Regions from separate parts of the Homo sapiens genome. Here regions 2, 3, 4, 5, 6 and 7 are each linked to region 1. The links are contacts of gene promoters, found by promoter capture Hi-C in blood cells and fetal thymus (Javierre and others, 2016). All regions are on one chromosome and are shown on one strand. The core of a region is centred on a gene start or on the middle of the fragment in contact, and the rest is flanking DNA. Distances in the headings are between cores, read along the strand shown.

The links. Contacts are between HindIII fragments. The CHiCAGO score rates a contact against its expected background, and 5 or more counts as called.
Region 2: a fragment that was not itself captured here is called in contact with the fragment with the promoter of PCBD1 in region 1 in 4 of 17 cell types (activated CD4 T cells, total CD8 T cells, M2 macrophages and 1 more); the score reaches 5.1 in activated CD4 T cells.
Region 3: a contact is called between a fragment that was not itself captured here and the fragment with the promoter of PCBD1 in region 1, in 4 of 17 cell types (naive B cells, total CD8 T cells, activated CD4 T cells and 1 more). The highest score is 8.5, in naive B cells.
Region 4: a contact is called between a fragment that was not itself captured here and the fragment with the promoter of PCBD1 in region 1, in 3 of 17 cell types (M0 macrophages, endothelial precursors and M1 macrophages). The highest score is 5.9, in M0 macrophages.
Region 5: a fragment that was not itself captured here is called in contact with the fragment with the promoter of PCBD1 in region 1 in 1 of 17 cell types (activated CD4 T cells); the score reaches 5.0 in activated CD4 T cells.
Region 6: a fragment that was not itself captured here is called in contact with the fragment with the promoter of PCBD1 in region 1 in 3 of 17 cell types (endothelial precursors, fetal thymus and M0 macrophages); the score reaches 5.9 in endothelial precursors.
Region 7: a contact is called between a fragment that was not itself captured here and the fragment with the promoter of PCBD1 in region 1, in 1 of 17 cell types (M1 macrophages). The highest score is 5.2, in M1 macrophages.

What each region holds. Positions count from the first base shown.
Region 1 is chr10:70,885,968-70,890,351 of GRCh38, reverse strand. PCBD1 (pterin-4 alpha-carbinolamine dehydratase 1) reads left to right here and starts at 1,787. Exons shown (of 4, transcript NM_000281.4): 1 at 1,787-1,821. The coding sequence starts at 1,819. RefSeq lists silencers at 1,671-1,920, 2,251-2,530. The HindIII fragment of the contact is 14,850 bases long and covers 1-4,384 here.
Region 2 is chr10:70,412,237-70,416,620 of GRCh38, reverse strand. The region is part of intron 1 of EIF4EBP2 (eukaryotic translation initiation factor 4E binding protein 2); the gene reads right to left. Among named protein-coding and RNA genes, the nearest start is that of EIF4EBP2, 10 kb to the right of the region's middle. The HindIII fragment of the contact is 4,807 bases long and covers 1-3,758 here.
Region 3 is chr10:70,468,150-70,472,533 of GRCh38, reverse strand. It overlaps a transcript of PALD1 not described here. Among named protein-coding and RNA genes, the nearest start is that of PALD1, 8.4 kb to the left of the region's middle. The HindIII fragment of the contact is 3,012 bases long and covers 566-3,577 here.
Region 4 is chr10:71,293,937-71,298,320 of GRCh38, reverse strand. UNC5B (unc-5 netrin receptor B) reads right to left here. Exons shown (of 17, transcript NM_170744.5): 14 at 2,361-2,510; 15 at 1,579-1,743; 16 at 231-412. Among named protein-coding and RNA genes, the nearest start is that of SLC29A3, 23 kb to the left of the region's middle. RefSeq lists an enhancer at 2,054-2,861. The HindIII fragment of the contact is 7,740 bases long and covers 1-4,384 here.
Region 5 is chr10:70,496,555-70,500,938 of GRCh38, reverse strand. The region is part of intron 1 of PALD1 (phosphatase domain containing paladin 1); the gene reads right to left. Among named protein-coding and RNA genes, the nearest start is that of PALD1, 20 kb to the right of the region's middle. RefSeq lists enhancers at 479-1,238, 1,239-2,000. The HindIII fragment of the contact is 5,152 bases long and covers 177-4,384 here.
Region 6 is chr10:71,274,293-71,278,676 of GRCh38, reverse strand. All of the region lies in intron 1 of UNC5B (unc-5 netrin receptor B), which reads right to left. Among named protein-coding and RNA genes, the nearest start is that of SLC29A3, 43 kb to the left of the region's middle. The HindIII fragment of the contact is 5,590 bases long and covers 1-4,384 here.
Region 7 is chr10:71,242,008-71,246,391 of GRCh38, reverse strand. All of the region lies in intron 1 of UNC5B (unc-5 netrin receptor B), which reads right to left. LOC112268061 (a long non-coding RNA gene) reads right to left here. Exons shown (of 2, transcript XR_002957083.2): 1 at 19-4,384. Among named protein-coding and RNA genes, the nearest start is that of UNC5B-AS1, 26 kb to the right of the region's middle. RefSeq lists an enhancer at 1-224. The HindIII fragment of the contact is 237 bases long and covers 1,132-1,368 here.

The DNA of each region.
Region 1 (4,384 bases), core at 538-3,037:
TAAAAATACACATAGACGAAACAACACCACACATTTTGCAAGAACCTGTGCAAACAAAAATACACATTAACACATTAGAGAGGCTGCTATGGGCGGTGGTGGGGGGCGGGGAATAAAAGTGGAGCACAAGAATAAAAGTTAATAGAAAAATGTGAAATGTGAGAGGACTTTTCTAATCTGACTCTAAGACTTATTATAAAGCTATAATAATCAAGACAAGGTAGTGTTCTGTCATGACAGACAAACAGATCAATGGAACAGAAGAAAGGGCTCAGAAATAAACCCACATGTATACAGTCAATTGATATTTTACAAAGGTGCAAAGACAACTCAGTGGAGAAAGGAATAACTGAGTCGCCATGTGCAAAAGTGCATCTGGATCTATAACTTGAAGCATATAAAAATATTTACTCAAAGTGGATCACAGACTAAATGTAAAACCAAAAGCTATAAAACATAGGAGAAAACTTTTGATCTTGGGTTAGGCCAAGATTTCTATGTGTACAACATCAAAATAGAAATCCATAAAAGAAACATTTGATATATTGGATTTCATCAAAATTAAGAACGTTTGCTCTTTGAAAGGCACCATAAGATAATGCAAAGAAAATATTTGCAAATCACTGCCTGATCATGTCCTTATATCCAGAATAAAACACCCTCAAAACTCGATAAGAAGACAACCCAATTTCTTTTTTAATGGGCAGGAAATTCAAACATGCTATTCAATAAAAAAAACTTATCCTTAGCAAATAAGTACATGAAAAGACATTCAATACAATTACTAATCAAGGAAACTCAAAACCACAATGAGATACTGCTACACACCAATTAAAATTTAAAAGGCTGACTATATCAAGTGTTGGTGAGGACAGAGAACTGCAACCTTCATACACTGCTGCTAGGAATATAAAATGATACAACCATTTTGCAAAACAGTATGGCAGTTTCCTAATAAGTTATAAAAGTCCACCTACCACATGACCCAGGCATTCCATTCCTAAGTGTTTACTCAAGGAAAATTAAAACATACGTACTTTCGAAGATTTGTGCACCATATTCGCAGCAGCTTTATTTGTAATAGCCAAAAGGTAAACAACGCAAATGTCCAATAGTGAATCGCTAAACAAATTGTAGTCTATCTGTACAATGCAATACTATAAAATAAATTTTACTTAGCCATAAAAGGAAGAAACCATTGATATAGGCAACAACATGGCTGAACCCCAAAACAGTTATCCTGCCTAGTATATACTCTATGGTCCATTTACATAAAATTCTAGAAAATGCAAACTAATTTATAGTGACCTAAAGTACATCAGTGCTTGCCTGGCCAGGTGGTTTCGGGAGGAAGGGGTTACCAAAGGGCAAGGGAAAACTTGCAGGGATGATGATATGTTCATAATGTTGATCTCGGTGATGGTCTCACGAGGGAAACATTAAAATTTATCAAATTGTACACGTTGAATATGTGCAATTTATTGCATGTCAATTATATCCAAATAAGAGATTTTTATAAAGAAAAAAATAGGTATTCTGGCGCCCAGGGCCACCCAGCTGTAAGCGGCGGGGTGGGATTCCAACCCAGAAGCGGGCATTTGGAGCCCTCATGCTTCACCCTAGCTCCCTGAAACAAGCACGGAGGATGGCTCTGAGCAGCGAGGAAAGTGCTGGAAGCAAGCAGGCCGAGCGCGTCCCTGGCTGGGGACGTTAATCATTACCGGAGGGCGGCCCGAGCGCGGCCCCGCCCCGGGACGGCAGCCTGCGCGCCCGGCCGCCGCCTGCCCTCTCCGCTGGCCACCTGCTGCCGCCCGCGCCATGGTGAGTCCAGGGGTGCGCGGCCGCGATCGGGGCAGCGGGGCCGGGGCAGCCGCGGGCGAGGTGGGAGCGGGAAGGGGCGGGGGAAAGTCTTTTCGAGTCCCCTGCGGAGCCGCCGGGGTCCGAAAGTGGGGTCTCTGCCCGGCTCTCTGTCGCTGGCGGCGGGGAGGGGAAGCTGAAGCCCTGAGAGGGGCGGTGGCGGGTTCGAATCCCACCCAGTTGGGAGGCCAGGCCTGCCCTGACCCCGGCCAGTGCTTGTTCCGGGACCCTTCCGGGGGCGGGGCCTACGACCTTCCTGGGCCGGGGAAGACAGTCGTGGAGGAGTCCACGGATCTCGTCCCCTTGGTGGCCCGATTCTGCTTTATACTGGGGTGGGAGCGAGAGGGAGGCTGAGTTTGCGCGCTCGTGTGCGTGCCTGTCCGCTGCCCCTTCCCGCTGGCACTCTGGGTACGGGGTCTGCCTGGGACTCACGCTCTGCGCCGGTATGCTGGCCCCAGAGCCACTCCCCGCGCCGGCTTGAGGCCCGTGCCAGGCCACGGGGGCTTGGTGGCGCTGGAGCAGCCCTCCTCCCGTGAGCTTCCCCCACCCACCCCCGGGGCGGGGGCGGGGGCGGGGCCCTTGCTCTGCTGTAAGCTCGCGAGCTTCATCAGACCATTTCTGGTCCACAGGCCTTCGGAGCAGGCAAGACTGGGAGGGCCTTTTGATAGGAGAGGGACTTGGGGGAGGGAGGATGAGTGGGGCTGTTTGTGAGGGGCGCTGAGGTCCCAGAGATGCAGGCTTGGGAAATCGGTAACCACTCCCCACACCTCGCCAGAGGAGGCAAACGGGGCAGCGTCCCCCTCTCTGTCTCCAGAGCCGGCACCTGGAAGGTTTGTCAGTTCAGCCGCAGGCTGTGCGACCTGGGGGGTTCCAGAAGGCTCTACCGAGAAAGGGAAGCCTCCTAAGAGCTCACCTGGACTCACCCACCCCTTTAAGAGCCAAGGAAGTAAACAGTGGGCTCTGATGCTTTGGCTGACTTCTGGTTGTCTAGATACACGGACCAGGCGGTCAGCCACGGGGAGAAGGCCAGCTCTGGAGTAGAGACCTACCTACTGGGCAGATGATGCAAATCGCTGCTGCCATTCAATCCCTATAGTCATCCAGAGCCGAGGGGAAGAGAGGGGCCAAGCTACATCAGTCCAGAGAGAGCTCACGTTTTCAGGAGGGAAAACAGCAGGGAAAAAAGACGGACTTAGGAAAGCACTGCGATGCTTCAGCTACCCCAAATGCTACCAGGCCCATCACAAGCCTGCTTGCCTTAGGAAGTTTTTTTTTTGTAATGCAGATGACATTTGCTTTATAGCAGTGGAGTTTCCTAAAGTGTCCCATTGGCACCTCATGATGATCTGTGGAGGTGGAGGTTCTGCCAAGAGAGGTACAGCCACCTGGCTGGTAAATGGTGAAAGCGGGTCTCAAAACTCCTGCCAATCAACACATGGTGTCCAGTCTGCAGGCTGCCTCATAAAAGCTAAATCAACCTCCCTCACATTCCCTCCCCACCCCTAAGGGTATCTTTTCAATTCAGCACTCTATTTCTGCCCTGGGGTGGTGCTACTCTAGAAGCCTAGGTTCTGGGATCTGTTAAGCTCCTAGACCTGGATCCTCCTAGGATGAAACTGACCCTTGCTTCCTTGCTTTCTCTGAGGTTCCACTCATGGCCTGAATTGTGCCAATTTGGGCTGCCTTGAGGGCACTTCGCACATTAGGTAAATAGGATGGGGCACTAGGTTTGCCAGCTGCCTTTGGCCAAGTTCCTTCCACTTTGGCCTGAGCTTCCCAACCAGCCAGAAAAGCAGACGGAAAACCAGAGAAACCTAGCCCTGGCGGCTCAGGACCAGAGGCTGCCTGGGAGCATGACTGAGGACCTACTAGAGGTAGTGCCAACGGCGGTCAGCTGCAGTGTGGCTAAGAATGGGATGGACACTTATTTTAAATGTAGCTCCTTCGTCCAGCCCCAGCAATGCTGACACACAGACAACACTGCGCCATCACTGGCTAGGGGTGGGCGGGAAAGAACAGCAGACAAGTCGTTTCCCCTCTCTAGGCCTGTTTCCTCTTCAATACACGTGAAAGTTACGGTAGGGACGTGGGGTGCATATGATGAAGTACATAATAGGAAAAGGAAGGGGGGAGAGTCATGGGTACTCTTCCTGAGAGGTTGTGGAGTAACATATTTGCATCTGGGATTTATTTTGCTTTTACGCCCTCACTGATGTAATAATCTCATGGAGGGAAGGTCCGTAAGGCTTTGAGGGCAGGGTGGGGGAAGAGTGCTTCTCTGTCCCCGTCATATGAATTACATTGCTTTTGTGATTTCCCTTGTGTGTGTGTGGAGTGTTAAAACCCAAGACCTGAGGGCCTATCGGCAGACGAGCCTGGACCCCACCTCCTGGGCAGGGTGCCACCCTTGAGGCCTCCCAGCCTATTGCTCAAAGACCTGCTGCCCTTTGGTCACCCACGTCCAAAGCAGCCAGTGGAAGCTAAGTTCCCCTAAAGGTTGGAGCCCCTCTGTTTTGACCTATAAAGA
Region 2 (4,384 bases), core at 106-2,605, 470 kb after region 1:
TTTAACCCTTTGAAAAATTGCCTGGTTTTTTTTTTTTTTTTTTGAGACAGAGTCTCGCTATGTCACCAGGCTGGAGTACAGCTGCATGATCTTGGCTCACTGCAACCTCCGCCTCCTGGGTTCAAGCGATTCTCCTGCCTCAGCCTCCCAAGTACCTGGGACTACAGGTGCATGCTACCATGCCCGGCTAATTTTTGTATTTCTAGTAGAGACAGGGTTTCACCATGTCGGCTAGGATGGTCTCGATCTCTTGACCTCGTGATCTGCCCAGCTCGGCCTCCCAAAGTGTTAGGATTACAGGCGTGAGCCACCGCGCCCGGCCAGAACTGCCTGTTTTTCAAAGTGGTTGTACTATTTTACATTCCCATCAGCAGTGTGTAAGAGTTCTAATTTTTATATATTGTAGCCAACATTAGCAGATATGAAGTGGTTTCTCACTGTGGTTTGATCTTAATTTGCATTTCCCTGATGGCTAATTATGTTGAACATGCTGTTTTCATGTACTTAACAGGCCATTCCACCACATATCTTCTTTTGAAGAAACTGTCTATTCAGAACCTTTACCCATTTTTCAATGATTTGTCTTTATTACTAAATTATGATAGTTCTTTATTCTGGATATAAATCTCTTATGTGACTGCAAATATAGTCTCCTATTCTGTGGGTTATCTTTTCATTTTCTTCATGATCTTCGAAGCACAAAAGTTCTTAATTTTCATGATGTCCAATGTATGTTTTTTTTTTTTTCTTTTGTTTGTGCTTTTGGAGTCATATCTCAGGCCACTGCCTAATCCAAGGTCATAAAGATTTGCCTCTGTCTTCTTCTAAAGGTTGTACATTAATAGCTTTTGCTCTGACATTTAGGTCTTTGAGCCATCTGGTCCACCTTCAGTTTTTCTGTGTGCATATCCAGTTGTATCAGCACTATCTGTTGAAAACTGTTCTTTTTCCACAGAATTGTCTTGGCACCCTTGTTGAAGATCAATGGGCCATTATTGCTGGGTTTATTTCTGGACTCTCAATTTTATTCCATTGATCTATATGTATATCCATATGCTAGTACCCCACTGTCTTGACTTGTAATAAGTTTTGAAACCACAAAGTGTAAGTCCTCCAACTTAGTTTTTCTTTTTCAAGATTGTTCTGGATATTTTAGGTCCCTTAAAGTTCCATATGAATTTTGTCAGCTTGTCAAAGAAGCCAGCTGAGATTATGATAGGGACTGTGCTGAATGTGAAGGTCAATTTGTGGAGTACTACCATCTTAACAATATTAAGTCTTCTGATCCATGGCCACCAAATGTCTTTCCACTTATTTGGGTCTTCTTTAATTTCTTTCAACAATGTTTTGTAGTTTCCAGAGTAAAAGTTTTATGCTTTGTGACTAAAGTTATTCCTATCAAATTGTTTTCATGCTATTGTAAATGGGATTGCTTTCTTTTTCTTTTCTTTTTTTTTTTTTTCGAGAGAGGGTCTTGCTCTGTCGTCCAAGCTAGAGGGCAGAAGTGCAATCTTGGCTCACTGCAACCTACACCTCCTGGGCTCAAGCGGTCCTCCTGCCTCAGCCTCCCTAGCAGTTGGGACTACAGGCACATGTCACCCAGAAAAAAATAATTTTTGTATTTTTTGTAGAGACGGGGTTTCACCATGTTGCCCAGGCTGGTCTTGAACTCCTGGGCTCAAGCCATCTGCCCACCTCAGCCTTCCAAAATGATGGGATAACAAGCGTGACCAGTTTTCTTTGTTTTTGCTTTTGAGATGGATTTTCCCTCTGCTGCCCAGGCGGGAGTGCAGGGTGTGATCTCAGCTCACTGCAACCTCCACCCTCTGGGTTCAAGTGATTCTTCTGCCTCAGCCTCCCAAATAGCTGGGATTACAGGTATGCGCTACCATGCCCAGCTAATTTTTGTATTTTTAGTAGAGATGGGGTTTCACCATGTTGGCCAGGCTGGTCTCGAACTCCTGACCTCAAGTGATCTGCAAGCCTTGGCCTCCCAAAGTGCTAGGATTACAGGCATGAGCCACTGTGCTGGGCCAAAAACAGGTTTTTCTATATGGCTCTTTTATCTTGCAACCTTGGCAAACTCACCTATTATTTCTAATAGTTTTTTTAATGCATTCCTAAGATATGTTTGATTTTGAATGCCAACACAGTAAATAATTCAGACAACAAGACACACTGAAGAACTAGCGTCTTAATGCTGTAATGTTCTCAAATATAGCCAGGAAAAATATGACTATGAAAGTATAGTATTTATAAGTTTTTGAATTTTAGTAATCTCTGCAAGCTAAAAAAAATTTAATTGTAGTGGGTATAAAGCAAAAATACAGAATCAGCTTGTTAATCACTAATGATTTTAGGGTGTAATTCAAAAGAAACTGACCTTTTAAAAAACCAAAATTATTCAAAGAAAAAAAATTAAGATTCAACCATGGATAAAATGGCAGGAAAAAACCCTTTATTTCCTTTATTGAATATTATGTTTACTATAAACTTACATCAATTCCAAGACAATCTATTAAAAAATCTAAAATATTTAAGGTTTCTTATACATATGCATGCACAGATGTACATTTTCTGAAGCAAGGACTTCCTAGCAATTCACATTTCACCCAGACTCCCTCCAACGCTATGTCAGCTCAATTTAATGTCAACCAATGCAGCCATAAGTAACTAGAAACAAGTTAACCTTAAGCTACTGAAGAAGGAAAACAGACTACACAAGAAATCCATAGCTCATATAACACAGTATTAAAATGGGGCATGATTGTGATCAATTGATGGAGTGTTACAAAAATTAAAAAACAATTTTCCATTCCTTCTCTATGAAAATAATCATGCTCCTTAGTCTTATATTGGAAAGTTATGAAAAAAAATCACAATATTGTATATGCTGTTTGATTTTCAACGTTTATAATCAAACTATAGTAAAAGCATAGAAGAATTAACAGTTAAGGAACAGTACGTAAATGTTACAAACTCTGATTTCTTTTTTTTTTTTTTTTTTTTTTGAGAGTCAGGGTCTTGCTCTATCACCCAGGCTTGAGTGCAGTGGCATGATCACGGCTTACTGCAACCTTGACCTCCTGGGCTCAGGTGATCCTCCCACCTTAGCCTCCCAAGTAGCTGGGACTACAGTCCAACTAATTTTATATTTTGTAGAGATGGGGTCTCATTACGTTGCCCTGACTGGTCTCAAACTCCTGGGCTCAAGCGATTCTCCTGCCTTGGCCTCACAAAGTGTTGGGATTATAGGTGTACGCCACCAAGCCTGCCCACAAACCCTGATATTATAAACATAATGAGGTTACATACCAGCAAAGTAAAGGCAGGAGGACAGGTGAATGGTGTACTTTTATACAGTGGAGAGCTAAAGTTGACAGGTTGAGACACATATTATTTAGAGCTTTAAAGATAACTACTAGAGGAGCCAAAAATGATAATACAATTTACAGAAATTAGTAAATGGAGAGAGGATGAGAAACAAGAGACAGAAAGTAATAAAAGTATCTTAGATTCCTCATCTTTCATAATGGGGAGTTAACAGTATTGTCTAATGTTAAAGAAATCACAGTATACATATATTATTTACAGCAACAATGGTAGCCAGCAAAAGCACTGTAAACAGAAACTGCTGAAAGTGGCTGTCTACTGGCATTTTACCCTCTTTTACATTGTTGAAGTTTCATTTTTCTGCTTTGTTTCAAAATGTACATATTTTTCTTAGTCTTCATGTTTGGATTTCAGAATAGGAAGCTTTAGATCTAGGTTAACATTAGCTATTTATAAATTTTTCATCCCTTAGTGACCAGATATTAGGATAAATCTAATACTTTCATCCAGGACTTTCTAGATTTAACATTACTAGGGAAATATGAGAGTAAAACTGAGTCCCTTTGACAGAGAGGGGGGAAAAACCCTATCTACCTTTGAATCTAAAAACCAGTGATTCTCAAACTGCAGAAAACAACAAGAAGGTCAATGAATAAAGCCCAAAGTTATGCTTGCCAAGATGGCTAGTATAGAAACAAGGTCATTCAAGCGTAACGGCCTCTTTCAATACCAAGTACCTTAGTTTAAATGATAAATAATCCATGCATTAAGCTATATAGTTAAGAAATTATGTAAGCTGAAATTAAACCACACAGAGAAAGTCCACTATAACATGGTTAACTTACAGGGTAGTTGTTAACTATATTTTTACAGGGAGCCCCCACCCCCACCCCCCGGCCGCCATCATAAAATTCTGTTTAACTAAGTCTGCTTCCAGAATTAGAATTAACCATTTACTCACGCAAATAGACAGCCTGGAGAACGAAACATTAAGTAACTTGCCCACAAGCCCTCCAAAAAGGCTGAGATGGACCCACACCCTCATAAAATA
Region 3 (4,384 bases), core at 822-3,321, 420 kb after region 1:
ATCCCAGCACTTTGGGAGGCTGAGGCGGGCAGATCACCTGAGGTCAGGAGTTTGAGACCAACCCGGCCAACGTGGTGAAACCCCATCTCTACTAAAAATACAAAAATTAGCCAGGCATGGTGGCAGGCACCTATAATCCCAGCTACTGGGGAGGCTGAGGCAGGAGAATCGCTTGAACCCGGGAGGTAGAGGTTGCAGTGAGCCAAGATCGCGTCATTGCACTCCAGCCCAGGCGACAAGAGCAAAACTCCGTCTCAATAAATAAATAAATAAATAACTCAGATCTGTTGCCCAGTTGTCTCCAGGCAACACCACTCCAGGCTCCCAAGGATGTCTCACTCTGACAGAGCCCTTTATGAAGATGCTGCAGGGAGGTGGGGGTGAGGAAGGGGTCAGGGATCTACGGAGGCCAGGCCTGACACAACCTCCCAGGGGCTTTCGTGTGACGAGCTCCAAGGCTGACACTGCTCTGGGCTAGTGGGCACTTGGAGGGGTTGCTTACCAGGCACATTCCAAAGGCCGAGGCCCCCAGACTTGCTAGGAAGGTCCCAGACTCTGTGAAGCTTCGGGCATGAAGAAGCCAAAGCAGTGCCTTGGGAAGGTCACTGGCCAGGGTTCAGTTTCCTGCATGCCAGGCTCAGTGCCAACCCTCACTGGCTGTGTTATCCCAGCCAGACCACCACTCTCTGAGCCTCAAAGAACCTAAGCGCTGGAAGACAGTTTTGCTGATGGGTGGGAAACAGATATTCTCACACTTTTCTGGCAGTATCCATGCAAATGACAAAGGCACAGACCCTTTGCCTCAGCAATTCCATCACTAGGACTTTCGCCTAGAAATGTGCTTGCATGTGTGCAAACTGACAACTGAACAAGGCTATTCATAGTTTGAGTGAGATGATGAAAGAGAAGATTGAAAGGTCTGTCAGTAGAGAGGTGATTGGCTAAACTATGGAACATCCAAAACTAGGAACACCGTGCAGCTATTTTAAAACCCAAGGCAGATGTATGTGAGCTGAGAAAAAATGCTTGCTAGAGTAAAGGGCAAGATTCAGAGATGGACATGGACAAAGATGACCACAGTGGTGTTGACCATGACAGTGGGGTGCTGGAGGCAGCCTCAGTATCTGTCTCTAAGGTGATGAATAAGTCACATGGATTCCAACCACAGAATCCTGTCCGACAGTTACACCCACCCAGATGCACACACACAAATGTGCAGCGAGCTTGGAAACCCAGTATCCAGGGATAAGAGTAATAAATGTATAATACTATCGAGGCTGAGTGCGTTGGCTCATGCCTATAATCCAAGCACTTTGGGAGGCCAAGGCCAATGGATCACCTGAGGTCAGGAGTTCAAGACCAGCCTGGCTAATATGGAGAAACCTCGTCTCTACTAAAAATACAAAAATTCAGGCCGGACACGGTGGCTCACGCCTATAATCCCAACACTTTGGGAGGCCGAGGCGGGAGGATCATGAGGGAGGTCAGGAGTTTGAAGCCAGCCTGGCCAACATGGTGAAACCCCGTCTCTACTAAAAGTACCACAAAAAAAAAAAAAAACTAAATTAGCCAGGTGTGGTGGCGCATGCCTGTAATCCCAGTTACTCAGGGGGCTGAGGCAGGAGAATCACTTGAACCCAGGAGGCGGAGGTTGCGGTGAGCCGAGATCGTGTCATTGCACTCCAGCCTGGACAATAAGAGTGAAACTCCACCTCAAAAAATAAATACATAAATAAAATAAAAATAAAAATACAAAAATTTCCTGGGCGTGGTGGTGCGTGCCTGTAGTTCCAGCTACTTGGGAGGCTGAGGCAGGAGAATCGCTTGAACCCAGGAGGCAGAAGTTGCAGTGAGCCAAGATCATGCCACTGCACTCCAGCCTGGGTGACAGAGTAAGATCCTGTGTCAAAAAATAAAATATAATAAAAAATAATATTATTTATTATATAATAAAAAATAATATTATTTATTATATAATAAAAATATTATTTATTATATAATAAAAAATAATAAATCACACTTATAGGCTTGTATACACACAGTCAACCTCTGGAAGGCTGTAGAAGAGGCTGAAAAGAGGACTTAGTCCTAAGAGGGGACTGGGGTCTGGGAGAGGGGAGCAGACTGACCTCCCACTATCCTACTGCATAGTTGAGTTTTTTACACCATGCATTTCTGACATTCTAATAATTAAGACATTTGTCATTTTAATTTGGAACATTCTTACATATGCACAAATGTAGAGAATAGTATAATTGATTCTATACACCCATTGTCCAGATATGACAGTTATCAAGATTTTGCCACACTTGCTTCATCTACTGTTTTCCTTTTCCTTGTTGGAGTGTTTTAAAGCAGCCCCCAAATATCACACCATTCACCCCTTCTGCCATCAGAATACGATGGACATAATAAATGCAATTTAAAGAAACAGAGTCAGGGCCGGGCATAATGGTTCATGCCTGCAATCCCAGCACTTTGGGATGCTGAGGCGGGCAGATCACCTGAGGTCAGGAGTTTGAGACCAGCCTGGACAACATGGTGAAACCCTGTTCCTACTAAAAATACAAAAATTAACCAGGCACGGTGGCGGGCGCCTGTAGTCCCAGCTACTCGGGAGGCTGAGGCAGGAGAATTGCTTGAACTCAGGAGGCAGAGGTTGCAGCGAGCCGAGATTGCACCACTGCACTCCAGCCTGGGCGACAGAGCGAGACTCCATCTCAAAAAAAAGAAAAAAGAAACGGACTCTAAGAAGCCAGTCAGTGCACCCTGCCAGACCTGGAGCAGCCCTGTACTAAACCCCCTTGCCTCTGCTTGACTATTCCCAGCAATGAGGAACTCATGACCTGACTCAGTCTCCTTTCTTGTGGTGCTAGCTGAGGTCTAGGCTTCTCAGAAGGCACAGACACCAGCCAGCCCACCCACCCTTTGCATCTTGCAGGCACCCAGCAGCAGGCAGGGGTGGCCCAGGGGAACCCAGCCCAGCTTATCAGCCCGCTCACCTCTACAGCAAACTCAGAAGCATAATGCATTCAATGCACATTCACTTCAACTAGCAGCCGCCGGAGCTCCGCTGGCTTGGAAGGCCCCTCCAGACACCCCCAGACAATCTGAGATAAGCATTCACGGTCCAGCAGTTAGGAGTAAACAGTTGTTCCCCAGCCTGCCTGTGTGTGCATTTGAATCACTGGTGGAGGGGTTACACGACAGACTCCCAGGCTCCGCCCAGCCCTCCTCAGCCAGAATCTCCAGGGCTGAGCCTGGGAAAGCCCCCTCGGAGGGTTTAAGGCCACGGTAGAATGTTTCACATTTGGGAATCCATGTTCCAAGGGACTCCGAGGTAATCCTCTGGCTGATAGGCCAATCTGACCCTTAGCCGCCTGCCAGCCTGGGGTGAGATGTTCCCAACTCCAGCTGGCAGAGGCCCCAGCGATGCCAGCTCCTCTTAAGGGTGGGCTGGCCAAGGCTCAGAAGGAACACATGCAGTCCCTAAATCCAAGGTGCCTTCCGCGGCTAGAGGTAATGGATTCAGAGATGGTACCGTGCCCCCTCCACTGTGGGTAGATAAAGGCAAGCTTTAAAGCCACGCTACTGGATTTAAATCCCAGCTCTGTCCCTTACCAGCTGTGTGCCCCTAGTCTCAGTCTCTTCATCTACTATAGGACCATAATAAGAGTCCTGCCTCAGGAGAATTGCTTGAACCTGGGGGGCGGAGGTTGCCGTGAGCCAAGATCACACCACTGCACTCCAGCCTGGGTGACAGAGCGAGACTCCATCTCAAAACACACACACACACACACACACACACACACACACACACACACACACACAGTCCTGCCTCATGGGCTAGGGTGAGGCTGCTGTGCTCTGCCCACTACACCCCGTCCATAAGAAGTCCTGGGCAGGGGCTCCTTGTGGGCAAAGGCAGGGAAGGGGGGCTCCACACTTGGGCTCTAGGGAAAGAAAGTTTCCTTAAAAACCTTGCCTGGTGACCAGGCACAGTAGCTCAAGCCTGTAATCCCAGCACTTTGGGAGGCCGAGCCGGGTGGATCACCTGAGGTCAGGAGTTTGAGACCAGCCTGGCCAATGTGGTGACACCTCCTCTCTACTAAAAATACAAAAATTAGCTGGGCATGGTGTCGGGCACCTATAATCTCAGCTACCCGGGAAGCTGAGGCAGGAGAATCGTTTGAACCCGGGAGGTGAAGGTTGCAGTGAGCCGAGATCGCGCCATTGCACTCCAGCCTGGGTGACAAGAGCAAAACTACATCTCAAAAAAAACCTTACCTGGTGGACCACACCTGCCTTCTTCCCAGTAAGACAGGCAACTACTCCGACAGAGGGAAGCCCAGGGGCCAGGCTCCATAAGGGCCATCACAACAGA
Region 4 (4,384 bases), core at 1,146-3,645, 410 kb before region 1:
GAGAGTCTGCCTGGCTCAAGGACCAGTGCTCTGAGCATGATGCTCCTCAAGGGAGCAGTATTCTTGAACTTTGCATATCCAATCCTGAGTTGCTGATTTGCCACAAATGGTGGCAAAAGGGCAGCTGGTCTGGGAGATGGTCGTGGCTGTCAGGCTGCCTGCCCTGCCTGCCCCTGTGAGACCTTGAGGACGAAGGCAGATGGGGATGGGCTGTGGTTTGGGATACTCACCGGTCCATAGAGAGCTTCTGTGCTAACATCCGCCAGTCATTGCCCCGTGAGTTGGGGGCATCTAGGCTGTTGCATATCTTCTGGCGGATGGACAGTGGGATCTTGAAGGCATAAGGTCCCAGCTGGGTGGTGACAGTGCTGCCAGGGGCAGAGCAGAGAGTGTCCAGGGAGCCAGCAGGTGTCTGCAAGGGTGGGGGCCAAGAGTGAGAGGGGCACAGTGCTGGGCATCTGCCCTCCAGCCTCCCTCCCCTTGGACTGTGAGCTCATTGAGCCTTGAGTCACTCCCACCTCCTCTGGACAGACTCCCACTGTTCAGGCAGGGGCTTCTCCCTTGAAGGGTCGGTTCCCAAGGGCAAGGCCTGCATGGCCACCCTTCAGGCCTCAGGGGGTGCACCATGCTTACCTAAGGCCCCAGGCAAATGCAGATGCAGCCTCATGGTTAGGAAGCCCCAAGGAGGCCCAGCCACAGTCTAATCCACATGCACCCTCTTGTACAGGTGGAAAGTGAAGTCTAGAAAAGGGGAGTGGCTTGCTCATGGCCACATGCCAAGTTAGTGGCAGACCTGGGTCCAGACCTGTATCCAGTGCTCTTTACAATGCCCCAAGAGGAGGATCTAGTGTTGTCACCCTGGGTGGCCTGGGTTTTTAAATCTCAATCCGGATTTTTAACGGTTGAGAACCACAGGCCTGGTCCTTGCATCAACCTGGGTTCGAATCCAGTCTTGCCACTGGTGTACTGTGTGCAAATCCTTGCCCTTCCTAAAACCTACTTTCTCACCTCCCAGGTGGGGATGATATCTGTCATGCATCTCCCGGTGCTTGTGAGATCATGTAAGTTTTTTGGTATATGCCAAGCATGTGAATGGCACTCAATCAATAAATGACACTTGTTAGAAAAACATGACCAGATACCCGCTCAGACTTGGGAGGTGAGAGGGAACTACAGGGTTCTGTGTGCTGCAGCCCAGCCCCAAACCCTAGAGGTATCCTCTGGCCCTCACCTCCACCAGCGTGGTGTGCAGCTGGAATATCTGGCGGCCCTTCCCTCACCTATGCCACAGTGCTGTGCAGCCGGAATATCTGGCCGCCCTTCCCTCACCTCCACCAGAGTGGTGTGCAGCCGGAATATCTGGCCGCCCTTCCCTCACCTCCGCCAGCGTGGTGTGCAGCTGGAATATCTGCCCCACCCTTCCCTCACCTCCGCCAGCGTGGTGTGCAGCTGGAATATCTGCCCCACCCTTCCCTCACCTCCGCCAGCGTGGTGTGCAGCTGGAATATCTGCCCCACCCTTCCCTCACCTCCGCCAGTGTGGTGTGCAGCTGGAATATGTGGCCCCGACTTCCCTCACCTCTGCCAGAGTGGTATGCAGCTGGAATATCTGGCCCTCCCCTTCCACTTGCCGCACGCAGATCTTGCAGGTGAGCTCTGTGGAGGCCAAGCTGTGCCTCTCCAGGGTGAAAGTGCAGTGGAGGGCCTTCTGGCTGCCACTCCAAATGTGATAGAAGGGGATCTCCTGCAGGAGGAGGGGGTCAGGACCAGGCAGGCAAGGCCAGCCTGCCCTGTCCTCATAGAAATGGAGGCTCAGGGAGGGTTGGGAGCTTTGGGGGGCAGTTCAGGCCTCTCCACCCAGATAGGGAGGGGTCAAGTGCCCTAAGCTAGCCAGCTGAGTTGGTGTCAGGCCCTCAGTTCCAGAAGGGAGCTGAGGGTGGGTAGGTGGGGGAGGGAAAGGCACAGGTGTGTGTGTGTCAGGGGCTAGGGGGCCTTGTGGTCTCAGGCGCTGCTGGGTGGGCAGCGGGCTGTGGCTGTCAGAGATGAGATGGGCAGTCTGCCAGGAGGGCATGCCCTGAAGGGTGAGGAGCCTCTGTGAGGATGAAGGGCATAGTCGTCTGTGCGTGTGAGGGTGTGACAGGGCAGAAGTGTGCATGTGGCTGCCCATTGCCCTGAATTTGGGGACGTGCCTGGGGATGGCTGAAAGCCTAGAGACTGGGGTGGGAGGAGACAGAGACAGTGAGAGATCCAGGGAGGGGTAAGGCCACAGGACAGAGCTAGGAGGCAGGGCCCGGGAGGGAGCTGGGCTTCCCGGGCAGCCCTTAAGTGGTGCCCCTCCCCATCCATCAGCCCAGCCCTCACCTGGTATTTGGCCAGCAGCTTGCTCCTCCAATGGGCATGGGGGAGGTCATGGAGGGAGAGGCGCAGGTTGTGGTAACTGTCCTTGAACATTAGCGGTTTCGGCTCCTCCACCAAGTATCCGCCCAGAGTCCGCTCCAGCTCCAGCACCTCCTGTGGGCCAGGGGCATGGGGAAGGGGAACCCATCACACCTGGCCAATGGGCCTCTTCTGTGGCACTGTGCGGGGCAGGGGGCAGGGGCCCATCTGAGTGCATGGCTGGGCATTTGCAAGAGCTCACAGAGGGCTTATGGTGTGAGAAGATGAATAGATGACGGATGGATAGACAGACAGTGGGAAAGATGACTAGATGAATGAATCTATAGATGACCGTATGGCTAGAGGGACTAATAAATGGACAGATGGATGGATAAACGGATTGATGGCTAGAAAGACAGACAGATGAATATACAGATGGATATACAAGGATGGGTATATGAATAGAAAGATGGAAGAAAAGATAAATGAATGGATAGACGAGCAATGACTGGGTAAACAGATGGGCTGCTGACTGAATGGGTATATGGTCAGATGAACAGAAAGACAGATGGATGGATGAACAGATGGACAGATGGATGGATGGAGGGTTGAATAAACAAAGAATGCCATCAGGCCCAAACCTGGTAACTTCTCTCTTGATTTCTATACCACTCTCTGGCCAAAGCTGGCCATTAGCCAACGCCCCAGGACCAAGAGATCCAGCTGCAGGAGCACTTCCCAGGCACCTTGCACCCATCACAGGGCCACTGGCATCTCAAGCCAGGGTCCTCCCAGCAGGGGACACTCCTTCTCCCATGGGCCTTTCACCTATGTTGTCTGCAGTGTGGGCTTTGGGACAAGTCCCATGAGCCTGGGAGATGAAGGAGCTGGACGGGGCCAGGGAGCAGGAACAGAAAGTGCATGGAGCCATGGGAAAGGACCATGAGGCGCTGAGGAGGGCAGATGGGAGGAGGGAGGGGAAGGGGCTCACACACGGCCAAGTGTCTGTATGCTTCCAGGGTTACATCAGGATGAGCCTGAGCTCCTGAGAATGGGAGGAGAACTTGGGGGAATGCACAAGGGCTCTGAGGCTGGCAGGGGACAGTGGTGCTAACACGGGGCTCCATACCTGCCATCATCAGGCTCTAGGTACTAAAAGACCCTTCCCTCCCCTTCCCTCCCTCCTGTCCCAACCACCCCTCATCTGCATGACCCTTCCTTCACTTGGGGCACCGCTCTCCATCCTTCTGCATATGCTAGGAGCCTGGCTGTCAGCCTTAACTTCCCTCTCCCACTGCCCATCCCATCAGTCACCGGTTCTGTCCATTTGACTGAGCACACGCAGCATCCAGCCCCGCCTCTCCTGGCTGCTGTCACTCCCTGTGGCCCAGGGTCCAACCCCAGCTTCCCAACAGGCCTCTCCACCTCTCATCTACCCACCCAAGTATAGCCACAGGGGCTTTCTAAAGAGCACCTGTGAACAGGTGTCTACCAGGTCCATTCCCCTTCCTGCCGGATGGATTCCAAATTCCTTGGCAAGGGGCCCTGAGGCTTCTGGGAAGCTGAGCCCTGCCCATCTCGCCCGCCCTCACATTCACACATTCCCTATGCCTTTTAGTTGGTCATGCTGAAACGCTTATGAAACGCAGTCATTTCTGTCGGTCTGGAATGCCCTTCACTCCTTTCTGCTGAAACTCCTACATGTCAGCCTTCTCAGAGTCCCTCCCTACCAGCCCAAGCCCCTCCCAGTCTGATGCTCCCTCAGTCCTGGGGCAGACCCCATCAGAGCCTTCAGGGATCCCTGGTCTGCCTCCCACCTCTAACCTGGATCTTGGTGAGGCAGGCCCTGTGCCCAAGGCTGTTTCAGTGTGTGAGGGTCGCAAGCGGGACCTAATAATGCTGGTGGCGGGGAGGGGTTCCTGGGAGGACCCATGAGCCTGGGGTGGGGGATTCTGGCAGGGATCATGCAGCTGGCCGGCCAGGGCTGTGTGGGCACCTGCAGCTGGCCC
Region 5 (4,384 bases), core at 1,503-4,002, 390 kb after region 1:
CAGGATTTACTGCAGAAGGCCAGGCACACGGCAGACCCCCGGCAGGGAAGTGACTTCATTTCACACATTGTCCTCTTCACTTCCGCCCCTGGCATGGGAGGAACTTAACCCTAAGAGGGCCATATTGCACCGGCTCCAGCCAACTCCACACGGACCAGAGCAAGAGAGTCCAAGCTTTCTCCTTCCCCCACCCCTATAATCCCCAATCCACAGATGAGGAAACTGAGGCACAGAGAGGCTGACAGAAGCGCAGGGACTCCAGCACCTTTCCCATTATACCGAGCTGCACAGTGGCGGAAGACGTTAACTAATGGTCGGGAACTCTGGGAAGGCTTCCCGAAAAAGGAACAGAGCTGGGACTTAAAGGATGAGCAACATTTGATAGACCGGAAGGGGGAGGAAGCACACTCTGCACAGAGGGAGCAGCATAGAGAGAGGTGCCTCCTGTATAGTATTGTGGGAAGAATTAAGGTGCTTGTGAGGCCAGAATATAGGATGAGGTGGGGTAGGCCGAACCCCAGTCCCTGGGGACCATGCCAGGATCTTAGGTGTTGCTCTGCGGGGTGTGATGTGCTGCCCAGCTGTGGCAATGGGAGAGAAGCACGACCACGGCCTGTGTCCACCTAGTGGGGCTGCAGGGAGGAGGCACCATGTGGAGGCACCTGAGCAACAGGGTGGGTACTGCTCTGGGACATCTGGGGTGCAAAGCTCACCCCACCAACCCCAAACTAAGAAAGAAGTTCACAGTTCCAATAGTACCACGTGCCAAGGTACCACACACCAGACCAATGAGCAAGCAGGGCGTTGAATGCAGACTGTGTGGGCTCGAGCCTTAGCTCCACCACGACCAGCCTGATGCCCCTGACTGAAGCTCCACCTCTCTATGCTTCAACACCTGTCAGTGAAGTCCATGCCCACACCCACCTCTGAGGCCATGAGGACTAACTGAGAAAACCCCTGTACAGATCCACCTGAGTGTCACAGCTGGAGCGTGACAAAGAGTCACTGCCATATCATTTCTCCAAATAGCCCTGCAGCTACAGATTGTGGCCATTCTGATGCATCAGGAGGCTGAGTGACTTGGCCTAGAACCCACAGCAAAGAAACAGTGGAGCAAAGATTCAAACTCAGGCCGTCTGGCCCTGAATGCCTAGGCTCACACCAGCCCATCAGGCAAAACAAAACCCACAAGAATGAACCTGCACCTGCCAGCTGTGGCTCTCCAGGCCCCCGGGCAGCTTCGGGCAGGGGAGCAAGCACTCCACCACCTCAAACCTCCAGTGGCAGAGGGAGGAGCAGGGAGAAAATGCCAGGCCACGGGAGAGGAAGAAAAATATTTTTAAGTTTCTCCCTCTTCCTGTTTATCTGTCCCTTCCATCCTGAAGTCCTGGTAGCTGTTTTTTCAGGGAAAGTCCTGCCAAGAGGGACATCCTGCCGTGTGGCCACCCCAGGCCAAGCCGCCCCTGCCAGCCTCACACTGCGGGCTCTGAGGCCCACCTCCCTGCAGACACTCCCGCCTGGCCCAGAGGCTGCTGCATAAAGAGGCTTTCAGAAGAAGCTGGGGCCCAGGAAGGGGACCTGGGGCTGGGAGGAGGGGCCCATACCATGGCACCAATCAGCTCCACACTCAGGCCAGAGAGGTGACAAGAAGGATTTGAAGAAATAACTCTAAGCCTGGTATTGAAGAAGGAAGGGCCAGAGCTGGGGTCAGAAACACACAGCACTGGCTGTAGAGCCAGGCAGAACTGGCATCCAAACCTAGCTTGCCCGTGACTTACTGTGTGACCTTGGCTAAGTTACCGAACTTCTCTGAGCCTAGTTCCCTTATGTGTAAAATAAGGATAATGTTAATACCTACTTCATAGGGATATGGTAAGGATTACATGAGACAATGTAAGGAAAGTGCTAGCACCTGGTAAACATAACAAATGCTATTTATTGCCACTCTCACCATCAAGCTGACCCCCTCACTCAATCCCAAAGACGTATGATACCTTTTTTTTTTTTTCTGAGATAAAGTTTTGCTCTTGTTGCCCAATCTGGAGTGCAATGGGGCGATCTTGGCTCACTGTAACTTCTGCCTCCTAGGTTCAAGCAATTCTCCAGCCTCAGCCTCAAAAGTAGCTGGGTTTACAGGCACGCGCTACCACGTCTGGCTAATTTTTTGTATTTTTAGTAGAAACCGGGTTTTACCATGTTAGCCAGGCTGGTCTCAAACTCCTGACCTCAGGTGATCTACCCACCTCAGCCTCCCAAAGTGCTGGGATTACAGGCGTGAGCCACCGCGCCCAGTCTGTGCGATACCTTTCAAATATGCTCAAAAGAACAATTACAGCCTCAAAAAAAAAAAAACAAAACAGGACAGGCATAGTGGCTCATGATTGTTATCTCAACACTTTGGGAGGCTAAGGCAAGAGGACTGCTTGAAGTCAGGAGTTTGATACCAGCCTGGGCAACACAAGATCTCACCTCGATAAAAAATAATTTTAAAGATTAGCCAGGTGTGGCGCACACTCCTGTGGTCCCAGCTACTTGGGAGGCTGAAACAGGAGGATTGCTTGAGCCCAGGAACTTGAGGTTGCAGTGAGCTAGGACCATGCCACTGTGCTCGCTCTAGCTCTGGTGATAGAGCAAGACCCCATCTCTAAAGAAAAATAAAATAAATGTTAACATTTTTTAAAAGAAATGAATTCTGACACATGCTACAATACGGATGAACCTTGAGGACATTATGTTATATGTTTAAGCCAGACACAAAAGAAGAAATATTGTACGATTCCAATAATATGAGATACCTTGGTCAAATTCAGAGACAGGAAGTAGAACTGTGGGTGCCAGGGCCTGGAGGAGAGGGAGTGGGGAGTTAGTGTTTAATGGGTGCAGAGTTTCAGTTTGGAAAGAAGGAAAAGTTCTGGGGCTGGATGGTGGTGATGGGTGCACAATATGGATGCTCTTAATGACATTAAATTATACAATTTTAAACGCCCAAAATGGTAAATTTTATGTTACGTATATTTTACCATGGTAAAAGAAAATTAAGGCCTCGTTAAAAAATGTTTTTAATAGGCCAGGCACATGGCTCCCGCCTATAATCCCAGCACTTTGGGAGGCCAAGGCGGGCAGATCACGAGGTCAGGAGATCAAGACCATCCTGGTTAACATGGTAAAACGCTGTTTCTACTAAAAATACACACACACACACAAATTAGCCAGGCATGGTGGCACACGCCTGTAGTCCCAGCTACTCGGGAGGCTGAGGCAGGAGAATCGCTTGAACTCGGGAGGCAGAGGTTGCAGTGGGCCGAGATCGCGCTACTACTGCACTCCAGCCAGGGTGACAGAGCGAGACTTTGTCTCAAAAAAAAAAAAAAAAAGTTTTTAATGCCTATATTCATTTCTATCTCCAGCCCTGCAGAGCTCAGGATGGAGAGATGGAGCAGATATGGAAAGAGCTAAAGGCACCACCACCCAGAGAGTTGGCACAGTCAGGAGAGCTGTGCGAGTGGCGCTGAGGAATGACCCAAACGCTACCTCGGGTCAGGGAGTTGGCGGCCTTGTGGCCAGGCATGCGCCGGCCCCAGACAGGCTGGGTCTGAGCGAGGCAGCTGTGCACACCTGCACCCGCCAGGAGCACACGTGAGTAGAAGGTGTGTGCAGGGCTCTGCTCAGATCTTCATCCACGTATGTGCACCATCCCAGGCTCAAGATGCCAGTACAGCCCCTATGTGCTGATCGGGGTCTGTGCCTGGCCAGCACCAACATCCAACAAACAGCAAGCCCTCCTCATCTCTCCCAGCACCAACCACCACGTAGGGCAAACTGCAGTCTGGCCACTCGCTCTGGAGCCAGGGATGGGGAAGGAGGTGGGCGAGGAAGGCAGAGAAGACTGCTGCTTCGTGGGCACGCCCAGTGAAACGAGACTTGGAAATATGGCCCTCCAGAAGCCCCCCTACCCCCAACTCCAGCCTGCCCACTCTCCCACAAGGCTGCAGCTGGGAGTGGGAGGTTGTTAAGACTGGAAGGTGAAGGGAGGAAGAGGGTTAGACAGGCTAATTGAGTTATCATGTGACCCTGGGCAAGGCTCTTCCTCTCTCAGACCCTCTGGAACCTCCTCGGTCTCCCTCTTGGTGAAAGGAGGATTCTACCCCAGCACCCAGCAGTTCACACCTGGCTCTACGTCCTAGAGAAGCGGGTGTTCATGTTCATCAAAAGACACAAAAATGTTCACAGTAGCTTTATCCACAAGCACCAAAAAAGGAAACATGGCAAAGTCCCAACAATAAGAAAAAGAATTAACAAATTGTCCCTACCATGGAACCCTACTCAGCAATGAAATGAACGATACTGATACCTGCAGCGACACGGGTGACTCCCTCAGGGCTGA
Region 6 (4,384 bases), core at 1,021-3,520, 390 kb before region 1:
ACTTGTTCTCTGGTCTAGGAGGCCACATCTGGCTCTAGGGAGTCCCCCCTACAGTCAGAGGGGCCAAGGGGACACCTGGTTTTCCAAGAACAGAATGTCTGACTATGCTTTCTCTTTGTGGACCAGGAGACCATGCTGAGACTGGGGAGCTTAGGAGAAAATGCATGAACTATCACTGGCTTGGGGCCTAGGCCCTGGGCAGTGTGTGTACGGGCGGTGGGGGTGGGGTAGCTAACAAGATGACACATGACTCCAGCTCCATCCAGCATGTTCTGTAGGGCCCAGGGAGAGAACCTTAACACCTACCTCGTTATGTCTGATGAGCACAAGAGGTGGACAACCTTACCCCGTCTCTGGGCTGCTCTGAGGATGAGACAAACATGCATGAACACCTAGGCGGTGCCTGGCACACAGTAGGTACGTACATGTTGCTGCATCGAACGAACAACTAAGGCTCACCCAGCATCAGGTGCTATGTTTGCAGGAATTTAAGTTGTTAACTTATCGAATTCTGGCACCAACCCTGTAAGGTATGTTCTATTAGACCCCATTTTAGAGATGGGTAAATGGGAGGCTCAGGGAGGTTAAGCAACTTGTCCAAGGTCATACAGCTAACAAGAGGCAGATCAAAAGTTTGAACCTGAGAAAAGACTTCAGCGTTTGGGCTGTTGCCCCAGACTCCACACCACCTATCATTGATCTACGTAGCTCTGTAATGGTGTAGGTGTCTCCACACCCAGGAATCCTAATAGCACCCTGACAGGGCCAGAACTCCACAGTCCACAGGGCTCTCTCATCAAGGGACCTGCAAGGCTGGAAATGTCCTCATTTCAAAGCAGAGGAAACTGAAGACCATTCAGATGGTTCCCATGACTTGCCCGAGGCCACCCGGTGAGTGGGTAGCTAATGTGGGAAGAGCAAGGCAGATTCCTGAGGCCAGGCCAGGGCTCCCTGACACCTGCTTCCCACTGCCAGGTACAGGGATACATTCACTATAGGCAAACTGGTAGCCCCCTAGGGCTGCTTGGGGATTTGATGAGGAGATGACACAGTGACTTGATCACAACCCAGGGAGCTGAACATTGGCTTTCAGTGGCCTGAGAGCTGGTTGCTGTGCATGCCCTGAGATGGCCACTGAGGCCTCCCTGCCAGGCCAGACAGCTCTGAGATAGCAGGATGGAGCCAGGAGGGCATCTGGGCAGCAGAGAACCTGCCAGGCTCCATGCCCACCACCCACCACCAGCATCTTGTCTCCGTCTCAGCCCTGAGGGGTGTGGGACAGAGCTCTGCCTTCAGACTCAAGAGGCCCCTGGGTCTGAACCAGCCCCTTGCTGGCCTCAGGCAGCTCATCTTTGAAATGGCAGGATTGAGCCTCCCTCTGGGGGCAGGTCATGGCCACAGGAGAAGGGGCATGGGGGCCCATGGGTGCATGTCACGTGCCTGCCCCCATCTTCTAACCGCACCACCCCCAGCCCCGGGGTGACAGCCGCCTCTGTGCTCTGCAGCACTGCAGGCTGTATTATGACTTTGTTTTATAACTCTAATGCAGACCATTTATTAAGTGGGTGCAGACATGACTGAGGAAAGCAAACATTAGACATCCATTAGTGCAGCAGGCCCTGCGTCTGGCAGCCCCACCGCCCTACTCTTCCTACCCCGCCCCTCCTCTCAGCCCTGGTGCAAAGATTCAGCTCTGGCCTTGGCAGGGGCGCAGGCCAAGTGTCCCCTCTGTGCCTCTCTGTTGCAGCAGTACCGGATGGCTCTTGATGTAGCTGTTGCCCTCTTGCTGTCCCTATACCCTAGGTGTCCTGGAGGCAGAGACTGCCAGGACATAAGGAAGAATGAGAGGCCCACCTGAGGTTCCTGCCTGGAGGGACCATGAGTGGACTCTGCTGGCCAGCACACAGCAGGTGCACAGTGAATGCAACTTCAGTAAGGGAGTAGGCCGGGCGCAGTGGCTCACGCCTGTAATCCCAGCATTTTGGGAGGCCGAGGTGGGTGGACTGCCTGAGCTCAGGAGCTCGAGACCAGCCAGGCCATCGCGGTGGAACCCCATCTCTACTAAAAATACAAAAATTAGCCGGGCATGGTGGTGTGCACCTCTAATCCCAGCTACTCGGGAGGCTGAGGTGGGAGAACTGCTTGAACCCGAGAGGCGGAGGTTGCAGTGAGTGGAGATCGCACCACTGCACTCCAGCCTGGGCGACAAAGTGAGACTCTGTTTCCAAAACAACGAGAGCCCTCACTTCTCCTTGGCCCTGGCTTGGGCCCCAGTGACTGAGGAAGGCTTGAAAGGTGGGCTAGATGAGAGCGACCTATGGCCAGGCTGCACGGATACCAGCTGGGTGGGAGAATAATGGGGTCTCGGGGTTCCTGGATGCTTACCCTGCCAGGCGCCGCTCAGAGAGTGGTTCATATGAACTCAATGAGCTCCATAATAACCCTAGACAGAGATGCACAAACGTTTTGATTTTTAGTGCCTCAGTAATTTTTTTTAAGCTATCCCAAGGCCAAAAAGAAGTCCCTAACAGGAATGTATTAGGTAATTAGATCCAAACAGCTTTGTAAATATTTATATCCTAAAATCTTAGGATAAATTGAAAGAAAAAATATATTTTTATCCCATTCCTAATAGCCACAAAGACTTACGAACAGGGATGTGTGCACCTGTCGGGCACTGCACAACTTCTCAAACTTTGGAATCCAAGCGGACACCACTATTCTTACTGTTTGTCATGGGTTACTCAAGTGCCACAATCCCAGCTTTGCAAAGATATGGTGCCAAATAAAGGAAAACAGAGTGATATGATGCTGAAACTGAGCTACCTGGAGCTACTTGTTGGTGCAGTGTCTGACAGCTATCTAGTATTACCGTGTCTCCCACATTAAAAATATCCCACAGCTTCCCTGTGAGTGTGCTGATGAACCCTGGGATAACTTGGCAGGTAGTTTGGGAACCACAAGCCTATGAGTTGGATATGATTATTATCCCCACAGTGCAGATGAGGAAACTGAGACCAAAAGCGTTTAAGTGACTGGCATAGAGCTATAAAGCTAGTAAGTGGCACCGCTAGGGGGCAAATTCAGGTGATCTGATACTAGAATCTGTCTTCCGAGCTCTGCTGAACTGGAAATGGGCATTTAGGTCTACTATGTGCTACTCCTTGCAATTCTTCCCATTTTACAAATGAAAACGAGGGGCAACAAGGGACATGAAGGGTCACCTGGTCGATGGCAGGAAGCAAGGCTTGAGCCATGTCTCTCAGCCCTGCCTCCCTGGCCTCTCTGCAGGACTTCCTGCTGCTCCGTCTCTACAGAGGAACCACATCTAAGACAGGCTCCCCTAGAAGTTCTTGCCTCAGCCAGGCCGGATCTGGGTTTCCTGCTGGCAGGAAAATTCCCACATGAAGTGTTTTTTCCCAAGAGTAGAACTCGTTTGGGCCTAAATTGCAAAAGTGCAGCCTGCCTTTAAAGCTGCATCCAAGAATGGTCCAGATATCCCGCCAAGAAGCTATGAAAGAAGACACATCCCTGCACAGATGTAATGACAAGACAGTCAAATGAAGGACACGAAAGATCGCTGGAGGCAGAGGCCCTGGGTTTGCATCCCAGCTGGGGACTGGCATTGCTGTGTGGCCATTCTCTCCCAGGCCCTGGAGTTTCTGTCTGTAAAATGAGGAGGTTGGCCAAGTCAGTCTCTCAAGCCCTCCTCTGCTTCTAACACTTTGAGGTTTAAAGATCCCTTATGGGGAATCTGTTCATGTGTGAAAATGTCCTGTTGAGTAAATTTTTTTCTTCAGAAAGCAAATTTGCTTAAATTAGGGTCACTTTCCTTGCCATTGCTATACGGTGGTCCTAAAGCAGAGCGTAGGTAGAACCCAGGGAAGGAGGAGGAGGAAACACTGTTGGGCTCGCCTAACCATGCTCCAGCCCACCCATCCCAGGCCTTAGATCAAAATGACCACCAGCACCTCTGGATGGGACCTCCGAGGGGTGCCATCCAAACTCTCACCTCTAATTTGCCTTTACCTGCCTCTTTATGAGGTCTCTTTATGAGGTCTCTACATGAGACCTCTTTATGAAGTCTCTATAGAAGTTACTTAAAGGGCCATCTCATCCAACGTCTCCCATCAACTCCTCAGCCAACCTTGACTCACATACCTGTGGGGATGGGGAATTCATCACTGCTTTTCTCAGCCAGGTTCTTCTTCGGACAGACCTAATAGTTAGAAAAGCCTTCCTTACTCACAGCTGCAATTTGAGATTCAGCCATTGCTAGACTTCTAATTTCTATTTTATTTTATTTTTTTTTTTTTTTGAGACAGAGTCTCGCTCTGTGGCCCAGCTGGAGTGCAGTGGTGCAATCTCGGCTCACTGCAACCTC
Region 7 (4,384 bases), core at 1-2,500, 360 kb before region 1:
ACCCCACTGTGATCTCACCTGCCCCTGGGTGTGGAGAGCCACAAAGCCATCCTTCTGGAAGGAACCTCTCGGATCCTCTCCCCTTGGGGTCCTCCGCCTTTCTGGGACCTCCATGCCTCCTCAGCGTCATACCTCTCCCAGCGTACAGTATGCAGCCCCCCAAGCCACGCCAGTCTTGTTGACGAATGAACTCCTACCAGGTCTCCCTTACCGAGGGCAGCCTTCACCAACTGCTGGGCTTCTGAACTGGGGGCTGGTTTCTCCTTAGGCTTCCACAGGCGGGAGTCTTGTTTCCCAGCTAAGCCACCAGCTGCCTGAGGACAGCCTGAGCTTCAGTTCTCTCGGGGCCGCCCCCACCTCCACCTCCAGCCAGGTGTGCCAGGCCTTCCGCACACCCTCGCTCAGATACAGAGAGGAGGGAGCCATGACGCCCAGAAATGAGGAGGGTGCTGGCGGTGTATCACCAGTAAGTCACAGCCCCGTGTCCTTGGGACTGCCCTGAGACCAACAGAGCTGATACGATTTGCTCTATTTTCACAGGAGGCAGGATGACAAGCCGGGTCACAATGGAACGGGAGGACACCAGCTTGTGGCACCCCACCTGAGCACCCAGAGTGCCTACAGAATAGACAGGGAGGGCCAGACCCATCTCCAGAGGGCAGCTGTGGGTGGAGCAGGGACTCACAGGAGCCCACAGAGCAGATCTAGGACTGGCCCAAACCTAGTGGCCATGTGGCACGGCGAGGCTGGCATGGGACCTAGTCTGTGGCCATGCTGGCTACCAGGGATGAGGTGGCATATTCTCTGGATGAATCCACCCCTTTGCCTCCCCACATCAGAGACTAGCTGGGCTGCCTCTCCCCGCCAGCCCACCCAGAAGGACAGTTCAGACCCCAAGCTCTGAGGGCTCAGGGCCTCTCAGTCTGTACCACCAGGCCCTACTGGGATTCTGCTAAAGAAGACCTGATAGAAGGGTCCCCCCTGCCAGACTCAGCCTCCATTACCCCATCAATAAGACAGAGCTAGGCTCACGGTAAACGCGAATGTAGGTGCGAATACCTTGGGATCTTGTCAAAACGCAGACTGATTGTGGTCTGGGACAGTGCTGAGGCCTCGAATTCCTAACAAGCTTCCAGGTGATGCTGGTAGCAAAGCTCTAAGGGGCTCCCAGCTCTAAGCCCTAGCTCCCAGAGAGATGGTGTTATGGAGAGAGCACACGTCATGTAGGATAAAAAGAAATCTTTTCAAAAGTGGTCCCCAGGGTTGGGGGAGAGGAGGTCAGAGAAGGGAGCCCGGGGACAATAGTGAATAGAATTGGGATTATTTCCTGAACTCTGATTCCTCGTGGGAACGAGGTTTTGAAAAGCTTTTCTTAAAATGGTTATTATTTAGTGGCCTGTCCAAAATAAACACACACATGCACTGCACGGAGCCAGGCAGGAAGTGAGGAACATCTGGGAGACATCTGGCTGCTGGAGAACTGAGAAGTGGGTTGGGGAGGGCCAGCGGGAGCTGGAGGCGGTCTGCGTGCCATGGTCGCCCACAGTCACACAAGCACGCCAGCACGCCCCCGCCGCCAACCAGTTCGGCGCACACAGGCATGCATGCATGCACACAGGGTGTCCCTAGGACCTGCAGGACCTTGCTGGCAGCGGCTGCAGATCGCGGGTTCTCGGAAGCGGACATCCTAGCTCTCAGGATCCGCCTTCCCTCCTCCCTCCTCTCCTCTTGGAGGTTGTGATATTTATGACTTGCCTCTCTACGTATGCAAGCTGAGTGTTTTCCTTCCACCTGCTCCCCGGCTAGCCTCAGAAAGAAGCAGGGGCCTGAGTAGGGGCAAACTTAGGGCAAGTCTCCAGGTTCCTCCAGATCTGTGCCCTCTGTAAGAAGGATATGACTCTTCTGCCTGGCTCACTGGAACACTAGAGGCCATTCACCCAACTGATATTTACTGTAAACCTTCTGCAGTGCCAGGCAACGTCCCAGGGGCTAGGTGTCATCTTAGGAGATTATAACCAAACCTTAACACCCAAGTTTAGGGTGTCGTCATAATGCCTGAGTGGCCCTGGGGTGGGGGGCCACCCTTACCCAGCAGGCATTGGCCCAGGCTGTAGGGATGAACCTGCCACCACCCTGTGAAGGCCAGGGCTCAGAGTCTCATGCTGATTATGCCTGGGGGCACCCTGCATCATTTCTGTTGTGGGCGTGTTGTGCAGGGAGTTCCTCCAAGGAGACTAAGAGGGCAGGAACCTTGTGTTGCACAATTCTCTGTCCCTAAAGATGCCTGGCCCAGTACTAGATACAGCAGAATAGGTGATGGCTAAATAAATGGAGAGACCTGGGCTTGTACAAAGGGCACAGTCTCTGCAGACAGACACACCCAGGTGCAGATCCTGGCACTACCACACACCAGCTGTGTGACCTCGGGCAAGTTGCTTCATCTCTCTGGGCCTCGGTGTACTCAATTATAAACTATGGAGAACAATGGTTAGCTCCAAGGGTTAAGCAGCCTGATACATAAGGTCCTTCACGCAGTGCCTGGTATTTGGTTAGAACTCAACCAATGTTATTATCACGAGGCACAGAAGAGATTTTAAAAGTAGTATTCACCCAGTGACCTTAGGTGATCCCTGTAGCTGTGGTTCTGATTTTCCTCCATGTTCCTTCCAGCCCACCCTGGACTGTCTAGTCTCTCCAACCTTGGCCATCCAGGTGGGGTGGCCTCTGAGGAGGGGGTGGCGAAGGCTTCCCAAGCCCCCCGGGGAACAGGGAAGGGAACTAACCCTGGCTGAGAACCTTGGTGTTGGGCACTTGATGGATGGCATCTTCCCAGAAGCCTTCAGAGCTGTGCCATCCAACACAGTGGCCACTAGCCATATGTGGCTGTTTAAACTTTAATTAAAATTAAAAGTTCAGTTCCTTCATCACCCTGGCCATATTTCCAGTGCTCAATAGCCACGTGTGGCTAGTGGCTACCAGACTGGGCAGTGCAGGCAGAAGACGTCCCCATCCCTGCAAGAAGTTTCACTGCACAGTGCTGCTGCAGGGAAGGTGTGACAGCCCCCACTGCACAGATGGGGAAACTGATCTGAAGCCCAGGCTCTTTCTGCTTGGCCCTAAAGCAGCCCCCAGACTCTTTTTCTTTTATTTTTCTTTTGAGACTGAGTCTCCCTCTGTCGCCCAGGCTGGAGTGCCGTGATGAGATCTGAGTTCACTGCAACCTCCGCCTCCTGGGTTCAAGCAATTCTCCTGCCTCAGCCTCCCAAGTAGCTGGGATTATAGGCGCGTGCCACCATGCCCGGCTAATTTTTGTATTTTTAATAGAAAATACAAAATACAGCCTGTTGGCCAGGCTGGCCTTGAACTCCTGACCTCAGGTGATCCGCCCGCTTCAGCCTCCCAAAGTGCTGGGATTACAGGCCTGAGCCACCGCGCCCGGCTCCCCAGACTCTTGAATGGGTGGGCTGAGGTCCTCATTGGGTGTTCCATGGCCCCACCTGCTGGAAGGCTGGGACACACCCAGTGCCCTGCTGCTGGCAGGGCCAAGCCCAGGACAGAGAGAGTGACACCGTGGCCCCGTCTCCCTCACCCAGGCATCATAAAGACACCTCCAACACGTGTGTGTGAGATTCTGGGGGCCGCCGACCAAGAGCCCAGACCCAATCATCTACAGGAACGGATGTGGCAGGAGAGGGCACTGGGCACTCCTGGCCTGCCATGGCAGACCGCCAACCCTCTGCAGGGACAGCCAGGGTCTCACACGGACAATGGCTATACAAGGGCCTGAACTGCAGGGTGACCACATTCCAGCTACAAAGTGGATCCCCCTGGAATCTTGGTGACCACAGGCTGTGTTGATGTCTCTAGAGGGTGGACAGGCCCTGCCCAGGGAGAGGGGGGCAGACCTGACTGTATTGGTGCAGGGCCCAGATGAAGAGGAAGCTGCCCACTCAGCTGCTGGAAAGAAGCCCACGCCAGGCTCTCCTCTCCCTCAGCAGTCTTTCCTCTCTGCTGAACTAGCTCGGGGGACCTCAAAGTACCTCACAATGAGCACTACCACTTTCTGGCCATGTCGTTTTGGGCACTGTGGGCCTCAGCTTCCTCATCCCTACAAAGGAGATCATCTCACCCAGGGGGAGGTGGGGCGAGGTCACATGTCATAGTAACAGACACAGGGTCTGGGCCACGGCCGACGGACGCCACGCAGGAAGGGAGTCACAGGGAGGGCCTGAGACAGACTGTGAGGGAATGCCACGCCCCCCCATGTCCTCTCCCCACTGCACTCCAGGGGGCTGGGGTTGGCCTAGGAAGAAGGGCCTCAGGCCTCCACAAAGCCGACCAGCAAGCTGGGCCTCTGTGCAGCCTCTCTGAGCACCAGGTCGTG